Regions from separate parts of the Homo sapiens genome. Here all the other regions are linked to region 1. Evidence: promoter capture Hi-C in human tissues and cell types (Jung and others, 2019). All regions are on one chromosome and are shown on one strand. Each heading gives the region's core, a stretch centred on a gene start or on the middle of the fragment in contact. The rest is flanking DNA. Distances are from core to core; before and after follow the strand shown. Region 1 holds the start of FYCO1 (FYVE and coiled-coil domain autophagy adaptor 1). Region 2 overlaps LIMD1 (LIM domain containing 1). Region 3 overlaps SACM1L (SAC1 like phosphatidylinositide phosphatase).

Region 1 (4,694 bases), core at 760-3,259:
TAAAGACATTCTAGTCTTGAGTCACCAAAGCTGTGTCTTTGGAATCTTCAGTAAACAAAAGTTACCTATCAGCTAAACATCTCCCCTAAAGGGAAGCAGGGTGGGTGGGGGTGAGGGGGCTGCCATTTCTTGCGTACCTACTTTGTATTCTTGAGTCAGCAGTCCATAGCCTTGGTGACCAATATGGGTCAAAGCTACCAGCTGCTCTGATCTTGCTCTGTTATGGGTGATTCCTCTCATCACAAACATCTATGGGGGCCATCCCCCTCAAAAAGGACCAGGTTAAAAACTTGGCTCCTGAAATTATACTGGTGCTCCAAACCCAGCCCCAAGGGGCAAAGGTCATCGGAACAACAGCTAAAGGATCACTGCCTGAGACTGTTACCAATCTCTAAAGTAACTGCAAAAAAAAAAAAAAATCAAAGTAAAATATTAAGAATTGAGTATACGGATATTCACCATACAATCCTTTCAGTGATTCTGTATGTTTATTTTTCTAATAAAATATTAAAAACAATTTAAAAAGTAAATGAAGTGCTACACAAAGATAGTCACTTTGAACATAAACAGATAAACTCTATTTCCTAAAGCAAGAGCCTTTAGGAGAGATCCTATTAATCAAAGGAGGCTGAGATCCATCACTGTGACAATTAGCTCTTATTTTCAGGGTGATAATAACCACGGTGCACAACTAGTATGGGGCATTCAATGCTTTCAGAACAGTGGTTGTCACAGAAGGGAGGGTCAAGTGGAGCTCACTCAACAGGGGTCCACTTCAGAAGGTGGGAACTACTGAAAGCAGAAAACCTTGGCATGATAGCTCCAGCTCCCCACCCCTCCCCCACACCAGCCCCCAACACCCTCCAGCCGCATTAGGCAGATGGCAGGGGAATTAAGCTTGCAGCCTGAGACCACAAGGCCTGCACGGGCAGGAGAACCAGTGAGCAGATTAAGCCCTGGATCCTCTGCCCCGCAAAAGCCCCTGACCCATTTCTCTGTCGGGAAAGGAAACTGCTGTGGTAAGACAAGCAGAGGGGCTGAGAGGCTCTGGCCAACACAGGCAGTTTCAACAAGTGTTCTATTTTTTTTTCTGGAGAGGACACCCAATGGGAACAGTGAAGAGTGACAGGGACATCAGAGAATACATGTGCTTTAACAGGGGGCCACGCGGTTAACGTGTCAACCACATGTGCTTTTCTTACAAAAAATAAAATCCCGCCATCCTCCCCCCTCCCCGCCCCACCCCCGCCAGGTTTCAACAGCACGGACTCCAGTCCAGTGCAGTGCCGCCACACCAGAGACAACAGGTGTTTCGGGAAAAGACCCCTGGGGGCTAGCTCGAGACCCTGCGCATGGGCACAAGGGGCAGTGGATAGTGAATAGGTCTTGGCCAAAGGATGGGCCAGGAAGAAAGAAGCTTCTTCCCCTCCTGGGAAGAGGGCAGAGATCCGAGCACCAGCGGAGTCTTGCAAAGTGAAGGTCTGGGCTGTCCCGGCCCAACTGGGCCAGAGACTAAACTTCCTAAAGACCACGCAGGCAGGAACTCCGGGGCCTGCCCCATCCTGCGCTAAGACATTCAGGCTTGTTCTGAGACGCCGCATGGTGGGCTCCTTTCCTTTGCGGGCCCTCCGCCCTCCGGGGTCTTGGAACTGGTGTTTGGGGTCTGTCTTTCTAACCGACCAACAGAGGCAGGCTGGGTGCCTGGGCCGGCTTCCACCTGCCCGAGGTGCTTCCCGGCCCGCTGGGCAAGGACGGGGGCGCTCGGGCAGGGTCTGAGGGAGACCTGGGATGGGCGGGGACTGTAAGGGCAACAGGTGACAAGCCGCGCCCCGAGCGAAGCTCTCGCCTCAGGGATCGTGAGCGACCCAGGTGCCCCCAGAGTCCAGCCGGTCTTCCGCGGCACTTACGCGCTCGTGGGTCCACCGCCGGGCAGAACCGAAACTTTCTGGGGCCAAGCGGAAGAGGACGGGAACGCGGTGCTGACGGCCATGACGCGCACACCAAGAGGGTGGCGGGGGCGGACTACAACTCCCGGCGTGCTCCCCGGGGCTGAGGCCTGCAACTCCCATCGGACTCCCGGGGCTCCGACTACAACTCCCGGCGACTCCGCAGGGCGGGGTTTAAGTGCTCCCACCGCCCAGTCCCCGGACCGACTGTCCCACCCGCGACCCATGCTGGCCCCAGGTTAACGCCTGCAACCCCGGAGGGCCACAAATCAAAGGTCTGGCATCTTGACAACAACGCTGTTCTTGTGTGGCTAAGGAGCACTCCAAAGGTAGCTAGTTCGAGTTGAATCGTGCACGTGCTGTAAGTGTGAAATACACCTAGGTACCAAAGAGTCCGAAGAATGTTAACTAGCTCATTAATTTTTAGTGATTGCATGTTAAAATGATAATATTTTGATATATTGGGAAATAGAAAAACATGTATTGGTGGGCCTAATTTCCCATCTTTTAATCCCCCTTATTTCTTAATATCAGGGTCTTACTTAAAATTAGTGCTCAAAAACTACGTGTTTATGAACTACCACCCCTAACTTTGGCCCCATCCTCAGCCCAACTTCTATTTATAAGATGGGTGTTGCAAAGCACTGTGGAACTGAATACGATAGAACAAAATGCATTCAATCAGTGTCCGCTATGGGCACAGTAGAAAAGAGGAACACTACACGGGGACTTTGGCTTCTAACTGACTGCATTCCTTAGCTGTGGCTGGCTATCCTTTACTCTCTGCCCTAGTTCTCATCATTTAAGCCAGAAACAGCTCTCTCCCTTGTAGGACCTAGCTCGTGGTATCCAGTCAGGAACCGTGGTGGCCCAACATTCTAAACTGAGGAAGCAGGGTGTTGTCTGGGTACAATAATACAGAAAGAAAATCAATTTCTTAGTCGATTTTAGGCTATGACATCTCATTAGCCATCTAATTTTATAAATTAGATGTAGCTAAAACAGTGAGTTGGATGGATGGAGTAGTCAGTTTGGGGGTGGGGTTGGGAGGAGGTACATGAATAGAAGTGATTTCCACTCTTGTTAACAGAAAGGAGAACAGAAAGAAAACGGGGGGAGTGAGAAGATGACAAAGAGAAAAGTAATCAATGTAGTGGTCTAAGAGAAATCATTGCTCCAACCACTGTCTGAACAGCTTCATGCAATATTAAGGATGAGAGAGATTTTAATGTTGGTCATCTGGTCCAATATCCTTGTTTGAAACTGTGTGGGGAAAAAAAAACCTCCCTCAAACCGTATTTTTCCTCTACTCTTACACAACAGCAATCATCAACACAGGAGAATAATTTGGTGACCAGATGTGTGTGGGGTTTTCCCCACACACTGAGCAGTGGACCGCACCTGGGTGTCCTCCAATTCAATTCCGACACTATCTACCTGGAGTATCAGATCCCACAAGTGGAGGGCTCAGTCCCCAAGACTGCCTCCTCACCTTTAAACACCAGTTGTAAGTCTAGGCCTCCAGAATTTTGGAATGACTGGCTTCAAGTTGAGTTCCCACGACACCCTCTTTGGGTTCAGCTAATTTGCTAAAGTGGTTCATAGAACTCAGAGAAACACATTTACTGGTCTATTATAAAGGATACTGCAATGGATGCAGATAAAGAGACACGTAGGATGAGGTGTGGAGGAAGGGGCGTGGGGCTTCCATGCCTTCCCTGGATGCACCACTCTTCAGTAACCTCCACGTGTTCAGCTATCCCGAAGCTCCCCGAATCCAGTCCTCTTGGGCTTTTATGGAAGCTTCGTGATGTCAGCATTGCTTCCCCCAGGGTATAGGGGAGGACCCTCTCTTGGGAGGGTCTTAAGACCTATAATCAGAAAGGCGGGGGAAGCGGCTGGGCACGGTGGCTCACGCCTGTAATCCCAGCTCACGCCTTGGGAGGCCGAGGTGGGCGGATCACCTGAGGTCGGGAGTTTGAGACCAGCCTGACCAACATGGAGAAACCCCATCTCTATTAAAAATACAAAATTAGCCGGGCGTGGTGGCACATGCCTATAATCCCAGCTTCTAGGGAGGCTGAGGCAGGAGAATCGCTTGAACCCGGGAGGCGGAGGTTGCGGTGAGCCAAGATCGAGCCATTGCACTCCAGCCTGGGCAACAAGAGCAAAACTCCATCTTAAAGAAAAAAAAAAAGAAAGAAAGGCGGGGGAAGATTAGAGTCCTGCCTTAAAGCAGGTGAAAGGAGGGCAGAAGGCCAGAGAGATTCGGTTTCCTGAAGCCTAACATACCTAACATAACAAAAGACTGTAACAAGGGCTATGGGAGTTATGAGCCAGGAACCATGGAAGAAAACCAAGATAGATAGATAGATAGATAGATAGATAGATAGATAGATAGATAGATAGACAGACAGATAGACAGACATCATAATACCACAGAAACTTAAACCCAAAAGGAGTTTGAAAAGAAAAGGAAAACAAACCTAATATTTATTGAGGACCTATATGCCAGTCCCTAGCCCCCCAGCAAAAAAACAAAAAACAACAACAAAAACCCATTCAGCATTATATTTAAAACTTGCAGCCACTTGGTGACATAATTAGTATTCATTATCATACTTTGAAGATGAGGAGATGAAGCTCAGAGAGGTTAAATGACTGTCCTGGTCCACCCACCTAATAAGTGGTGGAGAGTGGTGGAGGCTGGGGTAGAGCTGGGGGCTCCTGAGGGGTCTTCTGTCACCC
Region 2 (4,694 bases), core at 843-3,342, 330 kb before region 1:
GTCACCCAGGTAGGTGTCCGACGTGGGAAAAGTATGGGAAAGATACTCTAGTTAGTTCTCATTTTCTTTTCTAAAACTTCGAGTTCTCTGGAGTCCCTTTATAGAGAGAAAGTTTAAGTAACTGAAATTAATTTCCATGGCTGTCAAGGGGGTTCTGATGATGATCCCTGAGATCACCCAGCTGTAGGTAGACATTCTTGGTACCTTAGTTTAGCAGAGTCAGAAAATACTGCGAACGTTCAAGGATGGGGACCTTCTAGAAGAGAGGGCAACAGTAACTTTGAGGGGAGGACAAGAGAGCAGCTTTGGAGACCTAAAGAGTTGTGGCCTTCTATGTAAGTCCTATTATCCCTTCCATGCACCCCCACCCACATTCCCCTACTCCATTAAACTTTGTTTCAGGTTATAAAAATAATGCATAATTATTGCAGGAAAAAATGGTAATTGAAAATCACCTATTTCTTACACTCAAAGATAATGACTTAAAATTTGGTGTACATCTTATGTGTATGAGTGTACACATAATTTTGTCATCATATATGTGAGTGTGTTCATAACTGTAACCCACATACTTATATACTTCCTTTAAAATATTTTAAGTATTTTTCCCTGTCAATAAATATTTTTTTGAAAACACAATCTTTTTATGGCTGCATAATATTCCAACATGTATATGGGTTATCATTTAATAGGAATTGGACATTTGATGCTCATTTTTAGCAAGCTATTATAAATCTGAGATGACGATTTCTGGAACTAGGATAAATTCCTGAAATAGAATTTTTGGGGAGAAAATATCTGAACTTTGTAAATTCTACTGACATTTAATACAAATTTCTCTCCTAAGAGCTTGTTTTAGCTTCTGCTATCCCTTGCAGAGTGTGAACAAGTATCTGTTTGTCTGTGTCATTACTAACACTGGGGTTATCATTCTTTTTAAGCTTTGCTAGTCTGATAGGTAAAGCATAGGGTTTTTTGTTGTTGTTTGTTTTTGGAGAGACAGAGTCTCACTCTATTGCCCAGGCTGGCGTGCACAGACGTGATCTCAGCTCACTGCAGTCTCAACCTCTAGGCACAAGTGATCCTCCTAGCTCAGCCTCCTAAGTAGCTGGGACTACAGGCGTGCCCCACTACACCTAGCTAACTTTTTTATTATTTGTAGAGATGGGATCTTGCTGTGTTGCCTAGGCTGGTCTTGAGCTCCTGGGTTCAAGTGATCCTCCCACCTTGGCCTCCCAAAGTGTTGGAATTACAGGTGTGAGCCACTGTGCCTGGCAGCAATATTTTTTAAATCATGAGGAAAGCTAAAGATTTTATTTTATAGTTATTGATCATTCATACTTATTTTGTGGTTTGTCTGCCTATTCTTTACCCATTTTTTATATAGGACTGTTACTTGAGTTATTTTCATATTAGAGTTACATCCTTTTCTGTCATACAGTATAGATGTTTGCTCTAGTTTGTTATTGCCTTTTCGTTTACGGTGTTTCACCTAAGTGTGTGTGTGTGTGTGTGTGTGTGCGCGTGTAAAACCTACTGGAAGGTACTATGGGAAATAATCCTTATTTACCTGTCACCCAGAATGCACAGACATTTTTACATTATAGTTTTGGTTTGATATTTTTTATAAAGGAAATTAAATATATAAAAATTGTGTGTGTATTTTAAAACCTACTGGAAAGTACTATAGGAAATAATCCTTATTTACCTATCACCCAGAATGCACAGACATTTTTACATTGTAGCTTTGATTCTGTATTTTTATAAAGGAAATAAAATATTATATAAAAATTGGAATCATCTTGATTCCTTTTCCCATCCTCTCCCTTCCTTCCCTAGGGCAGCTGCCATTATGAATTGAAATTTTCCTACTGTTACCATATATACTATTGTCAATAAAAAACATACAGTACTAGTTTACAGTACTAGTTTGTGGCCGGGCATGGTGGCTCACACCTGTAATCCCAGCACTTTGGGAGGCCGAGGTGGGTGGATCACCTGAGGTCAGGAGTTCGAGACCAGCCTGGCCACCATCTCTACTAAAAATACAAAAATTAGCCGGGTATGGTGGTGAGTGCCTGTAATCCCAGTTGCTTGGGAGGCTGAGGCAGGAGAATCACTTGAACCTGGGAGGCAGAGGCTGCAGTGAACCAAGATCGTGCCACTGCACTCCAGCCTGGGCGACACAGCGAGACTCCGTCTCAAAAAAAAAAAACAAAACAGTACTAGTTTGTGTATGTGTGTGTGCGCACTCTCAAACTTACACATATACGATCATTGGTATATCTTCAGGCATTTTGCCTTATTTGCACTGGTGTTCAGTTCAATTAATAATGATATGCATAGATCTAGCCCTTTCATTTTGACTGCTGTCTGGTATTACATCCAGTAAATACAGCTCCAGTTTCTTCGTCTATTTATCAATTCTCATATCTAGTGAACACTGAAGACGCTTCTAGTTTTTCCATAACAACGTTGCCGTGAACATCCATACATGTCTGTCCTCATGCATGTTTGGGTAATCTTCTCAAGGGGCAACCTTAGAAGTGTGTTGTGGATTATGTGTATTTTCAGATCTATTGGCCCTTGACAAATTGTTCCCAAGTAGTCATCCCAGTTGATGATACTCCCACCAGTGTGAAAGGGCTCCTCTTGTCCCACACCTTCCAAGACATGCTATTAGATTTAGTAATTTTTGCCAATCTATGAAAGTGAGATAGAATCTCATTGTGGTTTTAGTTTGCATTATCCTGATTGTTGATAGGATAGAACATCTTTTTATTATAGATATTGGGGTTATGATTAATAATCCTGGTTATTCCTAAGGTATAACAGGTTTTCTATTCTATGCACTTTCTCTTCCTGCCCTTTGCTCATTTCCCCATTGGATTATTTATCTTTTTCTTATTAATTGGTGTTCTTTGTGTCTTAGGTACTAATACTATTTTAATTTATTTTATTTATTTATTTTTGAGACAGAGTCTTGCTCTGTTGCCCAGTCTTGACTCACTGCAATCTCCACCTCCTGGGTTCAAGTGATTCTTCTGCCTCAGACTCCCAAGTAGTGCGTGGCACCATGCCTGGCTAATTTTTTTTTTTTTTTTTTTTGAGACAGAGTCTCCCTCTGTCACCCAGGCTGGAGTGCAGTGGCATGATCTCGGCTCACTGCAACCTCCGCCTCCTAGGTGCAGGCGATTCTCCTGCCTCAGTCTCCCAAGTAGCTGGGGTTACAGGTGCATGCCACCATGCCCAGCTCTTTTTTGTATTTTTAGTAGAGATGGGGTTTCACCATATTGGCCAGGCTGATCTCGAACTCCTGACCTCAGGTGATCCACCTGCCTCAGCCTCCCAAAGTGCTGGCACTACAGGCTTGAGCCACTGTGCCCGGCCAATTTTTGTACCTTTTGTAGAGACAAAGTTTCACCATGTTGGCCAGGCTGGTCCCAAACTCCTGACCTCAAGTGATCCTCCCGTGTCAGCCTCCCAAAATGCTGGGACTACAGACGTGAACAACTGTGCCCGGCCAGATACTAATAGCATTTTATATGTGCTTTGGCCATCTTCTGATCCATGGCTTACTCTTCCTTTTTTCTTTAACTCAACATGTACTGCACTCTGTTAGAGTATTGCCAAAGCTTCCCCTCCAAGTATGAAGCTGACTTAGCTATATCTTCAAGGAATGTAGCATATACTCAGAGTATTAAAAAGTCCTACAGGAACCTACAGGAGGGCTGGGGGAAACATTCAGACAACACTAGATCTGGTAGCAACGACCACCACAGCAAAGAAGATGGATTTGTAGTTAAAGTTACTTCCTTTTTTATGCCTTTTCCGCTGCGTTGATGCTTTCAGGGTCCTCTCTGAGGTCTGAGGAATGTTCTTTGACAGTCTTGTCGCTATCTGCCTTGCGCTGCTTTGCCTCCTGTGGGCGTCACCAGGCGAGGGCAGCCAGTGTTCGTCTGGCGGGTTTCTCTGTATCTCGGGCACTGTTTGTGACAATGATGATTTTACTTTCATTTTGTGGGCTGGCCCCAAAGGGCTTGGTTTAACTTTTTGCAGAGAGTTCATTCAGTTTCTGAAACCCCCACATTGCCTGTTGAGTATGTGTTGAGCCTAGCACTGGAAATGCCCTCAGATCTGTGAATACTGCCAAGTAGGGGATCCCGGGACACCCTCTGCTGACCTTGAGCTCACAGCCCCATTGTGTTTTCCATAAGAGATGAGAGGGACTGATAAAGGATGTTTACCTGTGTTAGCCTTATGGAAGCAAGAGTTCCATCCAAGGAATCAGGGTGCTTTGAACTTTTCCCACTCCCGCCTACTCGTTTTAGGTCAAGAGAAACAAAAATATCCTTCCAACAATGTGTGTTTTCTACAGTTTAGGTGAGAAAAAGATAGGAAAATAATAGTTAACCAATGTATAGGACTCTCCTGATAGGCGGTCACAATGGTCCTGGAGCATATGTCCAAGGTGACTGTCATAAATGCCTGTGGGAAACTGCATCTTCACAAGAGACTGTTGCTTGGATGCCCCCTTGTGTTGCCTCTGCTGTCCTGCCACCAAATGCTTTGCTGGCATCTTTCCAAGCAGATAGGAGGTGCTGGAAGGTGAGCGTAGGATGACTTCCAAGTCAGCCCTTGAGTCTTTTTGCCAAATAGCACCTGCCAGGGCACCCTTCCTCCCGGCCTCAGCC
Region 3 (4,694 bases), core at 1,550-4,049, 300 kb before region 1:
GGTTTTCAAATGTGGCTCCTGCCCTAAGGAGTATTCTTTTTTGGATGCATTTAGAAGTGAAATTGGTTTCTGTGTAAGAATTGGTAGGAGATAGTAGCCATTTTTTAAAATGTGTCTGGAGATGTGTTTTAAGAAATATCCATGCAAAAGAGATAGTTCGATTATTTTATTACAAAAGGATTGCTAAAAGGATTTATTTAAATGTTGAAATGCTTGTTTTTTTTTTCTTTTGTTTCGTTTTGTCTTTAAAGAGATGGGGTCTCATTCTGTTGCCCAGGCTGGAGTACAGTGGTTTGATCATAGCTCACTGCAGCCTCTAACTCCTAGTCTCAAGCGAGCCTCCCACCTCAGCCTCTCGAGGAGCTAGGACTACAGATGCACACCACCACACCTGTCCTACTTCGGATTTTAAATAATAATTCTGTCTGCATTATGCCATGCTTTTTCTCCAGCCCATCTCTGCCTTGTTGAATTTCACCTTTCTAATGCTCTGGTTTTATCCTCTACTTTCCTGCTTACAATTTCCAGTTCCATCTTACTGACCTATAGGATCAAACTTGCATTTCTTAGCCATCTGTATATTCTAGCCTTTTTATAATCTGTCGCCTAATTTATTTCCCGTAACTGCCCAGAGCCTTTTCCCCACTTCTGCAAAACTTGGCTCATCCCCTTCTAGCTTCAAACTTGGGTGTTATTTTGATCCTTCTACCCAGAATGCCTTCTTCCTCTCTGTTCTCTTTACATACTGGTCACATCCATGGTAGAGCCAAGAGATCTCAGGTTTTGTTAGTCAGAATGGATATGGATTCATATCTTAACTTGACTACTTGTTTTGTGTCCTGGGCATAGTACTTAATCCTTCTGAATTGGTGTTTCAGTCTGTAAAATGGGAATGTTGATACTTCACAGGATTATTGTAAGGTTTGAAAGAGAGTTTTTTTTTTTTTTTATTATTTTTGTGAGACAGGGTCTCACTTGTCACCCAGGCTGGAGTGCAGTGGTGTGAGCTCAGCTCACTGCAGCCTCAGCCTCCCAGGCTCAAGTGATCCTCTCACCTCAGCCCCCAAAGCATCTGGGACTACAGGTGCACATCACCATGTCTGGCTGATTTTTTCTGTTTTTCAGTTTCGCCATGTTGCTGAAACTTGAACTCCTCGTCTTAAGTGATCCATGCACCCTGGCCTCCCAAAGTGCTGGAATTACTGGCATGAGCCACCATGCCTGGCCCAAAGAGAGTTTAGATGAAGTACTTAGTGTACCTCATAGGTACCTTCTTTGAGAAATGTTTTCTTTCCATGTCTTTTCCTTCACTGAGTTCTGGTAACAGTTTTTAAAGCCAAAAATGAAAAATTATTGTAACAGGGTTAGACACCAAATGTTTACATGATTTATGTATTCTGTCTCTTAGGATCAGTTTACAGTGCATTTACTTTCTCATGGACAAGAGGATGGAAAGCTAGAATGGTCAATCCATAGTACTGTTTGAACCACTCATTTTGTCACTTAGAAATGAAATCATTATGTACACCGTTATGTGACTCTTACTGACAGAGATACATTCTGAGAAATATGTTAGAAATATGTTAGGCAACTTCTTTGTACAAACATCAGAGTATAATTACACAAACCTAGATGGTACAGCCTACTACACACCTAGGCTATATGGAATAGCCAGTTGTTCCTAGGCTACAAACCTGTACAGCAGGTTACTGTACTGAATACTGTAGGCAGTTGCAACACAATGGTAAAGATTTGTGTATGTATACATACATAAACAAGAAAAGGTACAGTAAATATACGGTATTATAAGCTTATAGGACCACCATCATATGTGTAGTCTGTCGTTGACCAAAGCATTGTTACATGGCACATGGCTGTACTTTGTTTCTCCAACCAGTTTACACCTTAACATTTTCTTCTCTAGTCCTCCTCAGTACCTAACATAGAGCCTTGTGCAGAGCAGCTCCTCAGTGAATCAACTGAGTAAATGAAAGGAACTTTCCAGTATAGACCACGTACTAGCACTGCAAAAAGAACACAGTCTAGGGTAATTTGGAATGTATCGTTTTGAAGAAACACAGCTTAAAAGTCATTTCATGTATATTGTCTTCCCAGTGTCTCTGTGAGGTCATAGGTTGATAGGTATCCTGTCATTGTTGAAAACAGTCTCATAATTGCCCTTGGCCACAAAGTCAGATCATACAGCCAAGCCATGGTAGAGCTAGCCTTGGAATACGGCTGGTCCAGAGTCCAGTGATCTTTCCATTTCATTGCATTATCCATATGACCTTTTTTTCTCTTACCAGATTGCTCTCGCATTAGTCCTCAGACATGCCAGGTATTGAAATGAGTCACTTACAACCAAATATAGTTGACATGTCCATATTAATTTCCATATGTTTAATGTGGAAAACAGAATATTGATTTGCTCAGAATTTAAAATTCATACTTTTTAAACTTCCAGGCAGTTCTAAATATCCTGTTAGGCTCCATTTTTCTTTTTAAGCCATTTGTATAGGCATGGATAATGTCAGACAGTGATAAATTTGAAATTGCAAAATAATTAGACTGGAAATGTAATTTTTAAGAAGCTTATCTATCCCTGTATATAAGCTAAAATACCTTGGCAGTTCGGCGTAGGTGTCACATTTCCTTTGCAGGGAAATGACATCAAATGTGGTTTGGGCACTTCTTAGGCCCCTCAGACCTCAAGCTCATAATAACTTTCTAAAAGGTTCAGTGGAAAGTTAGAGGTGCAAAATTATTGGATACATTTAAAGCATTTTTTCTTCTTTTTTTTTCTTTTTCTTTTAAAAGGTCAGTTGAAACTAGGTGTAAGGCAGGGAATCCTTTAGTTACTGCATCAGGCTGCAGCATGCCTCTGAAGAGTACTGTTTCCTCAGGAAATTGCCATTTTTAAAAGAGTCTCATAACTGTGAGGTCATCAGTCAGGGCAGATATGATCCAACCTTGAAAACAGATGTAACCTAAGCTACCTTGTGATACAGACACATATAATCTGTTCAATATAATGAACATTCATATTATTCACAGAAGTCTCCCGGTGGAGGGAAGGGTGTAGGGCAGCTCAGATTATTCTCATGAGTTTTAGCACAGACAATATGGGGTTTGTATCCAAAGCATTAGTTGGCTGGGAGTTCAGGCTAGTTCAGGCTTACCTAGGCTCACGTGGCTAGCCTAGGTTAGTGCTAGGCTACATCAAATGACTTGGTATGCTTGTTTTAAGTGCGTATTCCAGGGCCCCACATTAGGCCTACTGAGTGAAAATCTCTGGGGATGAGCGGTGGAAATCTGCAAGTTTAACTAGCTATCCTGGTAGTTTTTATGCACTCTGAAATATTTTAGGGCTGGGCATACATAGCTGAGTTAGGACCAGAACATGCTGGTAGAAGAGAATTCTTTGGAAGATATGGGGCTCTGGTAGATTGTGCTGTGGATTAGAGCTTCAGATTAGGTGGAATTTGGACCTAGTCCTGTGAAGAAGTCTGGTTGAGAGAATGGGTTTTAGGGCATTCAGGGAATAGGATATAGGTGGGAACACAGAGTTTTGAGAAAGAGGATAGCATTAGAATGAGTCTTTCTAGAAACACCAACTGGTTTGGAATTGGGTTGTGCCCCTGGGGAGTCTGTGATGAACTTGAGCTATAGGAGAGGCAACCAGGGAGGGCTCAGTGAGGAGATACCCAAAGGGAGGATGAATGGGGGAGGTAGGAGCACCTTCTGCCTATGAGTGTAGTATGTGCAGGGGATCCTTCTTTACTAAGTTGTTTTCTTTTTGCTCACCAAACCTAGTAAAGTGTTGTGCCTCTGTCTTTTCAACCAGAGATGTATTAAATTTGATCATTAAGACCTTGATTTAATTCTTTTTTTTTTTTGAGATGGGGTCTCACTCTGTTGCCCAGGCTGGAGTGCAGTGGCGCAGTCTCGGCTCACCACAACCACCACCTCCCAGGTTCAAGTGATTCTTGTGCCTCAGCCTCCCTTGTAGCTGGGACTACAGGCATGCACCACCAGGCCCGGCTAATTTTTGTATTGTTAGTAGAGACAGAGTTTCACCATGTTGGCCAGGCTGGTCTTGATCTCCTGACCTCAAGTGATCCACCTGCCTCGGCCTCCCAAAGTGTTGGGATTACAGGCATGAGCCACTGCACCCAGCCAAATTCTTTACGTAAGATTTTTGAGGGAATATGTTCTTGCTACAGTTTTATGACATATCACTGTGGCTCCTATGCAAAATAGTGGTTTCATTATTTTTAAAAATTGTGGTAAAATAAAACATTAAATTTACCATCTCAACCATTTTTAAGTATACAGTTCAGGGGCAATAAGCACATTCATGTTGTACAACCGTTATCACCATCCATCACCAGAACCGTTTTCATCTTGCAAAAATAAACTCTGTACCCATTAAACAACTCCCCATTTCTGTATCCTCCCAGCCCCTGGCAACCACCGTTCTACTTTCTGTCTCTATAAATTTGACTTCTCTAGATGCCTCATGAAGTGGCAGTATTTGTCCTTTTATGACTGGTTTATTTCACTTAGCATAATGTCCTTAAGGTTCATCCATTGTGTAGCATGTGTCAGAATTTCCTTTTTTTTTTTTTTTTTTGAGATGGAGTCTCGCTCTGTTGCCTATGCTGGAGTACAGTGGTGCGATCTCGGCCCACTGC

What was found. The method cuts DNA at HindIII sites, captures the fragments that hold promoters and counts their contacts. A contact is called where the count stands out against the background at its distance.
Region 2: a contact is called between a fragment that was not itself captured here and the fragment with the promoter of FYCO1 in region 1, in 1 of the 25 tissues and cell types used here (bladder).
Region 3: a fragment that was not itself captured here is called in contact with the fragment with the promoter of FYCO1 in region 1 in 1 of the 25 tissues and cell types used here (dorsolateral prefrontal cortex).

What each region holds. Positions count from the first base shown.
Region 1 is chr3:45,993,815-45,998,508 of GRCh38, forward strand. It overlaps FYCO1 (FYVE and coiled-coil domain autophagy adaptor 1), which reads right to left and starts at 2,010. Exons shown (of 18, transcript NM_024513.4): 1 at 1,908-2,010. It overlaps LOC105377063 (a long non-coding RNA gene), which reads left to right and starts at 2,089. Exons shown (of 3, transcript XR_940799.3): 1 at 2,089-2,275. RefSeq lists enhancers at 1,809-2,308, 1,809-1,858, 1,879-2,038. The HindIII fragment of the contact is 4,281 bases long and covers 1,158-4,694 here.
Region 2 is chr3:45,660,781-45,665,474 of GRCh38, forward strand. All of the region lies in intron 2 of LIMD1 (LIM domain containing 1), which reads left to right. Among named protein-coding and RNA genes, the nearest start is that of LIMD1-AS1, 26 kb to the right of the region's middle. The HindIII fragment of the contact is 5,401 bases long and covers 1-4,694 here.
Region 3 is chr3:45,691,383-45,696,076 of GRCh38, forward strand. All of the region lies in intron 1 of SACM1L (SAC1 like phosphatidylinositide phosphatase), which reads left to right. Among named protein-coding and RNA genes, the nearest start is that of SACM1L, 4.3 kb to the left of the region's middle. RefSeq lists an enhancer at 2,763-2,902. The HindIII fragment of the contact is 4,754 bases long and covers 423-4,694 here.